2 separate regions of the Homo sapiens genome follow, and region 1 is linked to region 2. Evidence: promoter capture Hi-C in human tissues and cell types (Jung and others, 2019). All regions are on one chromosome and are shown on one strand. Each heading gives the region's core, a stretch centred on a gene start or on the middle of the fragment in contact. The rest is flanking DNA. Distances are from core to core; before and after follow the strand shown. Region 1 has its middle 16 kb from the start of ZNF582. Region 2 holds the start of ZNF471 (zinc finger protein 471).

What was found. Contacts are between HindIII fragments. The study calls those that stand out against the background at their distance.
Region 1: a contact is called between a fragment that was not itself captured here and the fragment with the promoter of ZNF471 in region 2, in 2 of the 25 tissues and cell types used here (dorsolateral prefrontal cortex and mesendoderm cells).

What each region holds. Positions count from the first base shown.
Region 1 is chr19:56,374,899-56,380,013 of GRCh38, reverse strand. It overlaps the pseudogene ZNF542P. Among named protein-coding and RNA genes, the nearest start is that of ZNF582, 16 kb to the left of the region's middle. RefSeq lists an enhancer at 1,818-3,017. The HindIII fragment of the contact is 6,401 bases long and covers 355-5,115 here.
Region 2 is chr19:56,505,068-56,510,084 of GRCh38, reverse strand. It overlaps ZNF471 (zinc finger protein 471), which reads right to left and starts at 2,230. Exons shown (of 5, transcript NM_020813.4): 1 at 2,165-2,230. The HindIII fragment of the contact is 4,462 bases long and covers 1-3,722 here.

The DNA of each region.
Region 1 (5,115 bases), core at 2,306-4,805, 130 kb after region 2:
CCATCCTGGGTGACAGAGCAAGACTCCGTCTCAAAAAAAAAAAAAAGAAAAAAAAAAAATTTAAGAAATCTGTATGACAACTCCAAGAATAAGTGAAATGTTCAAGACAAGATGCAAGATAAATGTACAAAATGCTATTTTGATGTACAAGTAGCAAACAACTGGAAAAGTAAAAGACAAACGAATTTACATATTGTGAAAATGTCTATTAATAAACTTAAGAAAATACATTCAAGATCTCTATACAGAAAACTACAGGTATTTCTGAGAAAAATTAAAGGAGACAAATAGAACTTATGCTAAGGTTACAGACTGGAAGTCACTGCTGTTAAGTGTCAATTCTCTTCAAGTTTGTCTACAGACTTCATGCAATCTCAATTATAATACCGACAGGCTTTTTGGTAGGAACTGACAAGGTGACTCTGAACATTTATTAGAAAATGCAAATAAGCTAGAGTAGTGAGGCCAATTTTTATTTTATTTTATTTTTTAATCCAGAAAAGCATCACCAGGATTTTTTTTTTTTTTTTTAAGAGACAGGGTCTCATTCTGTCAACCTGGCTGGACTGCAATGGTGTGATCACAACTCACTGCAGCCTTGAACTCCTGGACTCAAGCAATCCTCCCACCTCAGCCTCCTGAGCAGTTAGGACTACAGATGGGTGCCACCATGCCCAGCTAATTTCTAAATTTTTTTGTAGAGATAAGGTCTTGCTATATTTCCCAGGCTGGTCTTGATCTTCTGCGCTTAAGTGATCCTCCTGTCTGGGGCTCCTAAAGTGCTGGGATTATAGGCATGAGCCACCATGCCCAGCCTAGAGAAATTTGTTAAAATAACAAAACTGGAAGACTTACTACCAAATTTCAAGACTTCCTCTAAAGCTATAATTAAGACAATGTGGAACTACTGAGAAGACAAATAGATTGATGAAACAGATCATTTCAGAAGTATACTCATGATAAATAATTGATTTTTGCAAAAGGTGCCAATAACAACGTAAGGGCGAAAATGAAAGACATCTCCCAAAACTGGTGTCACTATGGGTCAATAATATGGGGGAAAATATAATTCAACCTTTACCTCCTCCATTATCCATAATAAAAACATGAAATAGATCTAACAGTAAAAGGTAAAAATACACTATAGCTATAGAAAACATGGAAGAAATTCTATGTAAGCTCAGCATAGAATAAATAATACTTCTTAGAACATAAAAAGCAGAACTAGGTCAGGCACAATGGCTCATGTCTGTAGTCCCAGCACTTTGGGAGGCTGAGGCAGATGGACTGCTTGAGCTCAGGAGGTCAAGACAAGCCTGGACAACATGGTGAAACCTAGTCTCTACAAAAAATATAGAAATTAGGTGTGGTGGCACATGCCTGTAGTCCCAGCTACTTGAGAGGCTGAGGTGGGAGGATCACTTGAGCCTGGGAGGCAGAGACTGCAGTGAGCCATGATTGTGCCACTGCACTCCAGCCTGGGTGACAGAGTAAGACCCTGTCTGAAAAACAAATAAAAGCATAACTATTAAAAAATGTGATTAATTGGATGTGATCAAACTTAAAGCTTTTATCACTGTTATGTAAATGAAAAGGTAGGTTACAGAATAGAAAATATTTCCAAAATCTGGTGAACTCTCATAAATGCACCCGAAGAAAAACCTCTAATTTTTTTTTTTAATTATACTTTAAGTTTTAGGGTACCATGTGCACAACGTGCAGGTTTGTTACATATGTATACATGTGCCATGTTGGTGTGCTGCACCATTAACTCGTCATTTACATTAGGGGGAGGGGGGAGGGATAGCATTAGGAGATATACCTAGTGATAAACCTCTAATTTAAAAAATAATCTGCAAGGCTTCAACACACACTTCACAAAAAATACATATCAACAGTCAAGGGAAGGCATTTTTAAGTTAAATTAAAAGTGCAATGAAATATCATTCCATACAAACTAACAGAGCATATTTAAAAAGACTCAAAGTACAAAGTACTGGTGATGATACAGAATAATCAGAATTAACATTTTGAGTTTTGGTTATTTGCTAAATTTTCCATTACACATTCTACAGTGTCGAGTAAGGTGAGAGCTGCAGCTAAAGGACTTCCCGCATTGACTGCACTGAAAGGGTTTTTCACCAGTATGAATTCTATTATGTTGACAAAGTGTGGAGGAAGTATTAAAGGCCTTCCCACAGGCATGGCATGTATAGGGTTTCTCTCCACTGTGTGTTCTCTTATGAGTAACAAGGGAAGAGTGCGCACTGAAGGCTTTTCCACATTCCTTGCATTTATACGGTTTTTCTCCACTGTGTGTTCTCTTATGAGTAACAAGAGAAGAATGGGCGCTGAAGGACTTTCCACATTCCTTGCATTCATAGGGTTTTTCACCAGTATGAATTCTCCTGTGCAGAGTGAACTGCATCACACGACAAAAGGTCTTTTTGCAGTCCTTACATTGATATGGTTTTTCTCCAGTGTGAATTCTCCAATGTTCAATCAGGGAAGACAGGTGCACAAAAGATTTCTTACACTTACTACACTCATAGGGTTTTTCTCCAGAATGAGTTTTCTGATGTCTAATGAGCTGGGCACTTTGAGTGAAGGCTCTTCCACACTCCTTACATTCATACGGCTTTTCTCCACTATGAATTCGCTGGTGATCTATAAGAGCTGAGACACGGCTGAAGGCCTTTCCACATTCACTGCATTCATGGAACTTTTCTCTCGTATGTGTAGTCTGATGCTGTGTGAGATGAGTCATCTGGCTGAAGGTTTTCCTGCATTCCTTACATTTGTAAGGTTTCTCACCAGTGTGAATTCTCTCATGCTAGGTAAGGTGTGCCCTCTGGTTGAAGGTTTTAATACATTCGTTACATTTATAGGGTCTCTCTCCCGTGTGGATTCTTTGATGCTGAATGAGAGTTGATTGACGAGTGAAGTATTTCCCACAATCTAAACACTGATTGCATTTCTTTTGTGTATGATTTCTCTTATGGAGAGTAAGCTGCATATTGTGGCAGTATAGATTTCCACATTCCTTACATACGTTTCTTGTACATTTTATCACTGTGTCAAACTGCGATAATACTTCATTAATAGCCCTCTTTGCAGATAACTCCTTAATCTCTGCACCTGGCACATCTGAAAGGGGAAAAAAAATCAATGAACAGAAGCAAATTAAACTAATGTAATATACCTATCTTTTATCTTTTCAATCCCACTTTAGGCACCTACTCAAGAAACTAAGATACCAGTTTTTAAGGTTATATTGATAAGAATGCTTATTGAAATAGGCTTTATATTGGAAACAAACTAGGGGTCCCTCATCATTAACCATGGTATATCTCTATCTGTAGTATTACTTAGCTACTAAAAAAAGAGTGAACTTCAGCTGTTTTCTGAGCTGCAGGATAATGTATTAAGTGAAAAGGACAAGATGCAGTGTGCTAAGTTATACCACAAGTTTCAAAACACAAAAAGGTAAATGATAGTTTCTGTATGTATATGTATGCATTAACCAGAGGAATTAATGTGTCCAGACAGAAGGCATCTCCAATTATTTTACTGCAGAAACAATTTGACATAATATAGAAACAATAAAATCAATCATATAATCAGGGGCAGATAGGGTATGAATTCTCACTGATATAGACATTTTGAGATTAAAGAGATCGCTAAGCAAACAGGAAAAATAAGAGGGTCAAGTGAAGGCAGCAAGGAAACAGATTTAGAGCTTAAGAAAACATGTACTATGGGGAATTGCAGGGGCCAAAATGGCATTACAGGAAGACTGATCAACAGGATCAAAAATTAAAGAAAGGCAATAGGACTTGCTACAAAGACGAACATAATACCCTTCTAACCTGTAGTTGTTTTTACTGTTTAGGAGCTAAAGGGCAGAGGGGCAGAGATGCTGGCTGTGCTTGCTGTAAAAGAACAGAACAGAACCCCGGTCAATTATGGAAAATGACTGAGTCTGGCCTGTTTTTCATGCACTAAACATGTGGGAATCCCACTGTTTTTTCCAGATTATACTGTGTATGTAGACAGTGGAGAGGGCTAACCTCATTAAGGGTGCAAGAGGGGCTGGTTTTACAGGGGGCCTCTACTACGAAGGCCTAATGGTTTTGAAAATGAACTCAAATAAAAGATTATTACCAAATGTGACGATTCAAGCTCATTATTCTACATCCTTTTCACCATAGAAATATCCACTTTAGCAAGAACCATAAATTAGTCAGATATAAACTACCTTTCAACGTTGTCTTATCCTAACGTCTTGGTCTTACTTTGGTTACCTTTTCTTCATGAATAGTGAGGCCCTGGAATTCTAACACAGGATGTTTCCTGTTTCTCTTGCTACCAATCAATCAGTCCTTCTCTGCTATCTATAGGCAATTCATTTCTTCCATTCCTAAGGGTCCATCACCACAAAACATATAAAAAACACATTCATCTCCAATTCTGAATTACTATTGAGATCCAGCTACATATTTGTAACTCACAGTTCAAGACATACCTTAATTCCAACAATTCCTTAAATAAATATATCACAAATGTACTTCATTTCCTCACTTTCTATAACTTTAAATATCACCCAGTTTTGAAACTAAAACTTTACTAACTCCCACACATCAAAATAAACCATTTTAATTAGTTTCTACTAGTTAATTAGTTTCTACTTTGCACAAGGTTTGTGGAAGCAAGTCTTAATCCCCTCACTCAAATGTAAACTCACTGCAAGTTTCTATACTTTTAAACAAACTCAGAAAAGAACACAGCAGGCTTTGAGACTGTTCTCCTTAGAAAGGTGTGCTTACAACGTTGGCCCCTGACTGACCTCTAAGGAACTTGGATTTCATGAGGGTTTCTACCATTCCCGGAACTGGTACAAGTGGCTTACTGTGCCTAAGCTATTTGTGCAGATGATGTGGTTTATGCGGAACACCTACTTTCCTTCTGAGATTCTGGATTTTTAGCATATACTCGGCAGAGGGTACCTTTATGGCTTCCCTAAGTAAATTCCTTGGCACTAAGTCTAATGTTGTCTAGCTGCTATTATCTCACACATACCACACAAGTTGCTGCTAGAGGAATTAAGTACCTCCT
Region 2 (5,017 bases), core at 981-3,480:
CTCTAGTCTCTCACATACCCATTGGTCTCTCACACACTCACACCAACATACCCCAGTCTCTCCCAATCACTGAACTCTCAGTCTAGTCTCTTGCTTTTACTCAGACACACACATGATCTTTCTCAGACTCCAGGGAGCCTCATACTTGTTCATCTTTCACACAGGCACATCTATTTCTCTCACACATTGATATACCCTGGTCTCACACTCTGGATTCTCACAATCCAGTCCCTGATAACACACTCAGGTGACAAAGAGGAAAAACAAACTGTTTCTCCTACTCCACTCACACAACACAAAACAGTTCTAAGACCAGATGTGTGGGGATCTACACACACACACACACACACACACACACACACACACACACCAGGCAAGCAATAAGTTCTTCAGTGAATACCAGGTGGGTGACCTCTAGGGCAACCCAGTGAATACCAGGTGGGTGACCTCTAGGGCAACCCAATTCTGACACTATCTACCTGGAGACAGCATAAGATCCCACAGGTTGAGGGCTCAGCCCTACAAAATTGCTCCCCACTTCCAATGCCAGTTGCAAACCCCAGGTTGTTTTACTTGTGCTTCTGACTAGCTATAAATCGGGGTTCCTATGACCCCCTCCTTGCGTTCAATTAATTTGCTAGGGCAGCTCACAGAACTTAGGGAAACACGTTTGTAGTAATAAAGGATATTACAAAGGATGCAGGTGAAGAAATGCATAGGACAAGGTTATATAGGAAGGGGCTCATCCTACAGGAACCTCCAGTGTTCAGCTATCTGGAAGTTTGATGAACCCAGTCCTTTTGGGTTTTTATGGAAGCTTCATAATGTAGGCATGACTGGTTAAATCACTGACCACTGATGATCAGTTTAACCTGTGGCTCCCTTTCCTTTCCCTGGAGATTGAGGGATGGGGCAGGTAATCCCAACCCTCTAATCCTGCCTAGATTGTTCTTGTGACCATCCCTTACCGTGATCAACCTACAGGCTGCCAGCCCACCAATCATTAGCATGCAAAAAGACACTTAATACTTTGGAGATTCCAAGGATCTTAGAAGTCGTAAGCCAGGAAACATAACTTTGTCCTATACTTTGATCGCCTCCCTCTCTCTCACAAACTCATAACAACATAACCTAGTCTCACTCTTTGGACTCTCACAGTTTAGTCTCTTTCTCTCTCTCATACACACACACCAGCCTCTCAAGGAGCCTCACATAATGACTGGTCTTTCACACACAGCCACGTGCTCATCTCTCTCACACTCACTGGTCTCACGCTATGTTGTCTCTCACACACGAACACACCCTGGTCTCACACTCTGGTCTCTCTCAGTCTGTCAGACACACATAACACGGCCTCACACACTGACGGGTCTTTCACCCAAAACACCCATTTCTCACACTCACTGGTCTCCCTTTCACACATTAACATACCACAGTCTCACACTCTGTTCTTGCACAGTCTAGTCTCGCATACATGGTGATTCTTCTCTCTCTCGAACACACACCGGCCTCTCATTGAGCCTCACCCACCGACCGACCGGCCTTTCACACACAGGCACACGCCCATCTCTCACACTCACTGGTCTCTCACACTCCATCCAGCCCGTCTCACTCTCTCACACGAATACATCCTGGTCTCACGCTCTGGACACCTGGTCTGTTACACACTTACACACCCACACACCTCGCAACCTCTCACTGAGCTTCACACGCTCTCTTTCAAATGCAGGCACATCCCTATCTCTCTCACACTCACTGGTCTCTCACACTGGCCCGTCTCGCTCTGTCACACACGAACATACCCTGGTCTCACACTGGACTCTCGGTCTGTCACACACACACACACACACACACAGAAACCACACCCTCTCACGGAGCCTCACACTCTGACAGATCTTTTACACACAGGCACACCCCCATCTCTCCCACAGCTCACTCCAGTGGTCCCGCCGCCCCAAGCCGCCCCGAACGCCCAGCAGCCCCGAGCCGCGGCCTCCGCCCCGCAGACTCGAGTACGCGCGCCCCGCTGGCCTCTGGGAAATGTAGTCGTCCTGGGGACAGAGGACGCGGCTGGGCCTTCGCGACCCGCGTCGGAGCCGCCCGCCTCGCCTGCCCTTCCTGGCCCAGCCCTCGAGCTCGGACTCCCAAACCACCCAAAACAAACCCCCGGCCTCGTCTGGCACCCAGACGCTCTCATCCGAAGGACTCCGTGAGTCGACGCTGGAACCCCCCATCGCGCAGGCGCCAGCCTCTCTCCAGGGGTCGGACGAGAGGGGCGGAGACAAGGCGTGGCCTAGTGTTGAGGGGATTGTCCTCGGGCTGCTGAAGGAGTGAGAGGGACCTTAGAGCAGAGCGGGCGGTGCCTGCGCAGTGCGTGATTACGCGAGCCGGGCGTGGCCCAGGGTTCCGGCGGGTAAGAGCAGGAGTGTGCGCAGGCGCAAAGATTGCGCTCTCCCCCTCTCCTCGCCTAGAGACCAGAAGCGTCCCTAGTTACTAGTTCCTGGGGCCTGGGAGGGAAACGCGCGACGGCTGAGCCTTCGGTGTGAGTACGCGTGGGGCTTTGTGACGCTGTCTGTGCCTCTGTGATCGCGATGTCATTCGGAGCGCGGCCTTCTGTGCCAGTCCGTGGGAGTGTCATTATCTTTCTGTGTTAAGCTTATTTTGGAATAAGACAGCGACGAGGAACCCCGACCGTGTTGTGACTCTGGCGAATTAATACCTCTTTCAGCTGCAAATGGGAATGTCACTGATCAGAGGCAGTGAATAACACGACGTTTTTGGAACCAATCTGCTAGGCTTGAACCGCGTTCAGCCCCTTAACAAAATGGAAATGGTCCCCGTTTTAGGGGACTAGCCCTGACTAGGAGAACTGTAGAATTAGTATTGGAAGGTGAGACAAATAAGGAAAAGCAATTCAGGGGGATACAGCAGAGAAAAAAAAATCCCTGTCCTCTTATTATGTAATTTACTTTGAAGCGGAGAGAGACAAGCCACAAATTCATGAGTTAGATAAACAGTCTGATGAACAGTAAAAAGGGCTATGGAGAAATATAACTCAGAGAAGGTTGTATCGTATACATTTTTTCTATTGTCTCTTATAATGTCTTAACATGTCAAAAAAACCTGTCTGCAGCAGACACCAGCCAGGTGACCGCTACTCCAATTCAATTCTGACGCTACCTGGAAAACATCAGATCCTACAGGTTAGACAGCTCAGTCCCAAAAGACTGTCCCCCACTTCCCATGCCAATTCCAAACTCCAGATTGTTGTACCTGTGTTTCAGAGAGATGTGCTATAAATTGGGGCTCCCACAGCCGGCTCCTTGGGTTCCATTAGTTTGCTAGAGCAGCTCACAGAACTCAAGGAAACACTTATGTTTACTGGTTTATTATAAAAGATATTTTAAAGGATACAAATAGCCAGATGAAGAGACATGTAGGGCAAGGTCCGAGAGAATCCCTAGTGCAGGAACTTCTGTGCCCGTGGAGTTGGGGTGCACCACCCTCCCAGCACGAGGATGTGTTTTTGTCTACCTTCTTGGAAGCCGCTTGAACTCAGGCCTTTTCGGTTTTCAAGGTTTCATTATGTAGATGTGATTGATTAAATCATTGGCCACTGGCGATCAACTTAATTTTCAGGCTCTCTCTTTTCCCAGAAGTAGAGGGTGGAGCTGTGAGTTCCAGTCCTCTGAGCACATGGCTGGTTCCTCTGGCAACTAGCCACCACTCCCCCCAAATATTGGGATTATCTTGAGAGTTTCCAAAAATCACCTCATTAACATAAACTCATGTGTGGTTGAAATACTGTCTTTCACCTTTATGGCTCTGGAGCTGTTCTGGAGCTTTTTCAGGAACCAGGAACAAAAGGCCAGATATTTTAACAAAAGATACTTTATTGCTGCAGTCATTTAGGAAATTAAAAGAGCTGTAGGAACTGAGAGCCATGAACTGTACCTTTCTTTCTAACTCCACATTCAGTGATGTCATATTGGTAGATTGAAATCCACCACAAGGGGACTATTTACAGTATGGAAATACAGTCTACATCGCTAAAGGATGGAGATACATTCTGAGAAATGGGTTCTTAGGCAATTTCCTAAGAACCTTGTTGTGCAAACATCATAGAGTGTACTTACACAAACCTAGATTGTGTAGCCTACTACACACCCACACTCACTCAGACTGGGACAACTTAGACATACCAGTTAACTTACTGTGCACATCTTTGGGATGTGGGAGGAATCTGGAGTACCCAGAGAAAACCCATGGAGACATGGTGAGACTAGTCAGATTGCATTAGGACCCACCCTAACGACCTCATTTCAACTTAATTAACTCTGTAAAAATCCTATATCCAAATACAGTCACATTCTGAGGTACTGGGAGTTAGGACTTCAACATGCAAAATTTGGGGCAGACAAAATTCAACCAATAACAAGAGATTATTTTGATTCTTCTGTCCTCATTCATCCCACCAAGGAAGTAAGGGGTATTTCCATTATCATACTATATATTAAATTATCATTACATTACATATATAATGTTTTCTTTATCTAATTTTTACTTTATATATACCACATTTTTGTTCATGGGCCATCAAAGGTATTATCTCACATAATTCTTGTAAAAATAAAATTGAATAACTAACTTTACAGTTGAAGATTTAAACAATAAGGGACTTTTTCCAAAGCCACACATCTAATAAGTTTCAAAGGTATTACTCTAATTCAAGTTTCTTCTTTCCAAATTCAGAACTCTTTCCATCCTGTAACAGTGCACTATTTTTAAGCTTAACTCCTTTCTGAAGAATATCAAATTTAACAACAGTGTTGGTGACCAGGTGAATTTGGATTACAAATTAATTTCTGGGACAGAATATGATATTCTCAACTTTTGGAACTTCAGGTGAGAGTTGACCAGTTTTCCCCACAGGCTCCATGTGGTCAACGTTATTTGTTTAGAATTGGAAATGGCCTTGTATGACACTGGATCCAACTTATCCTAGCTTGGGGTCAGC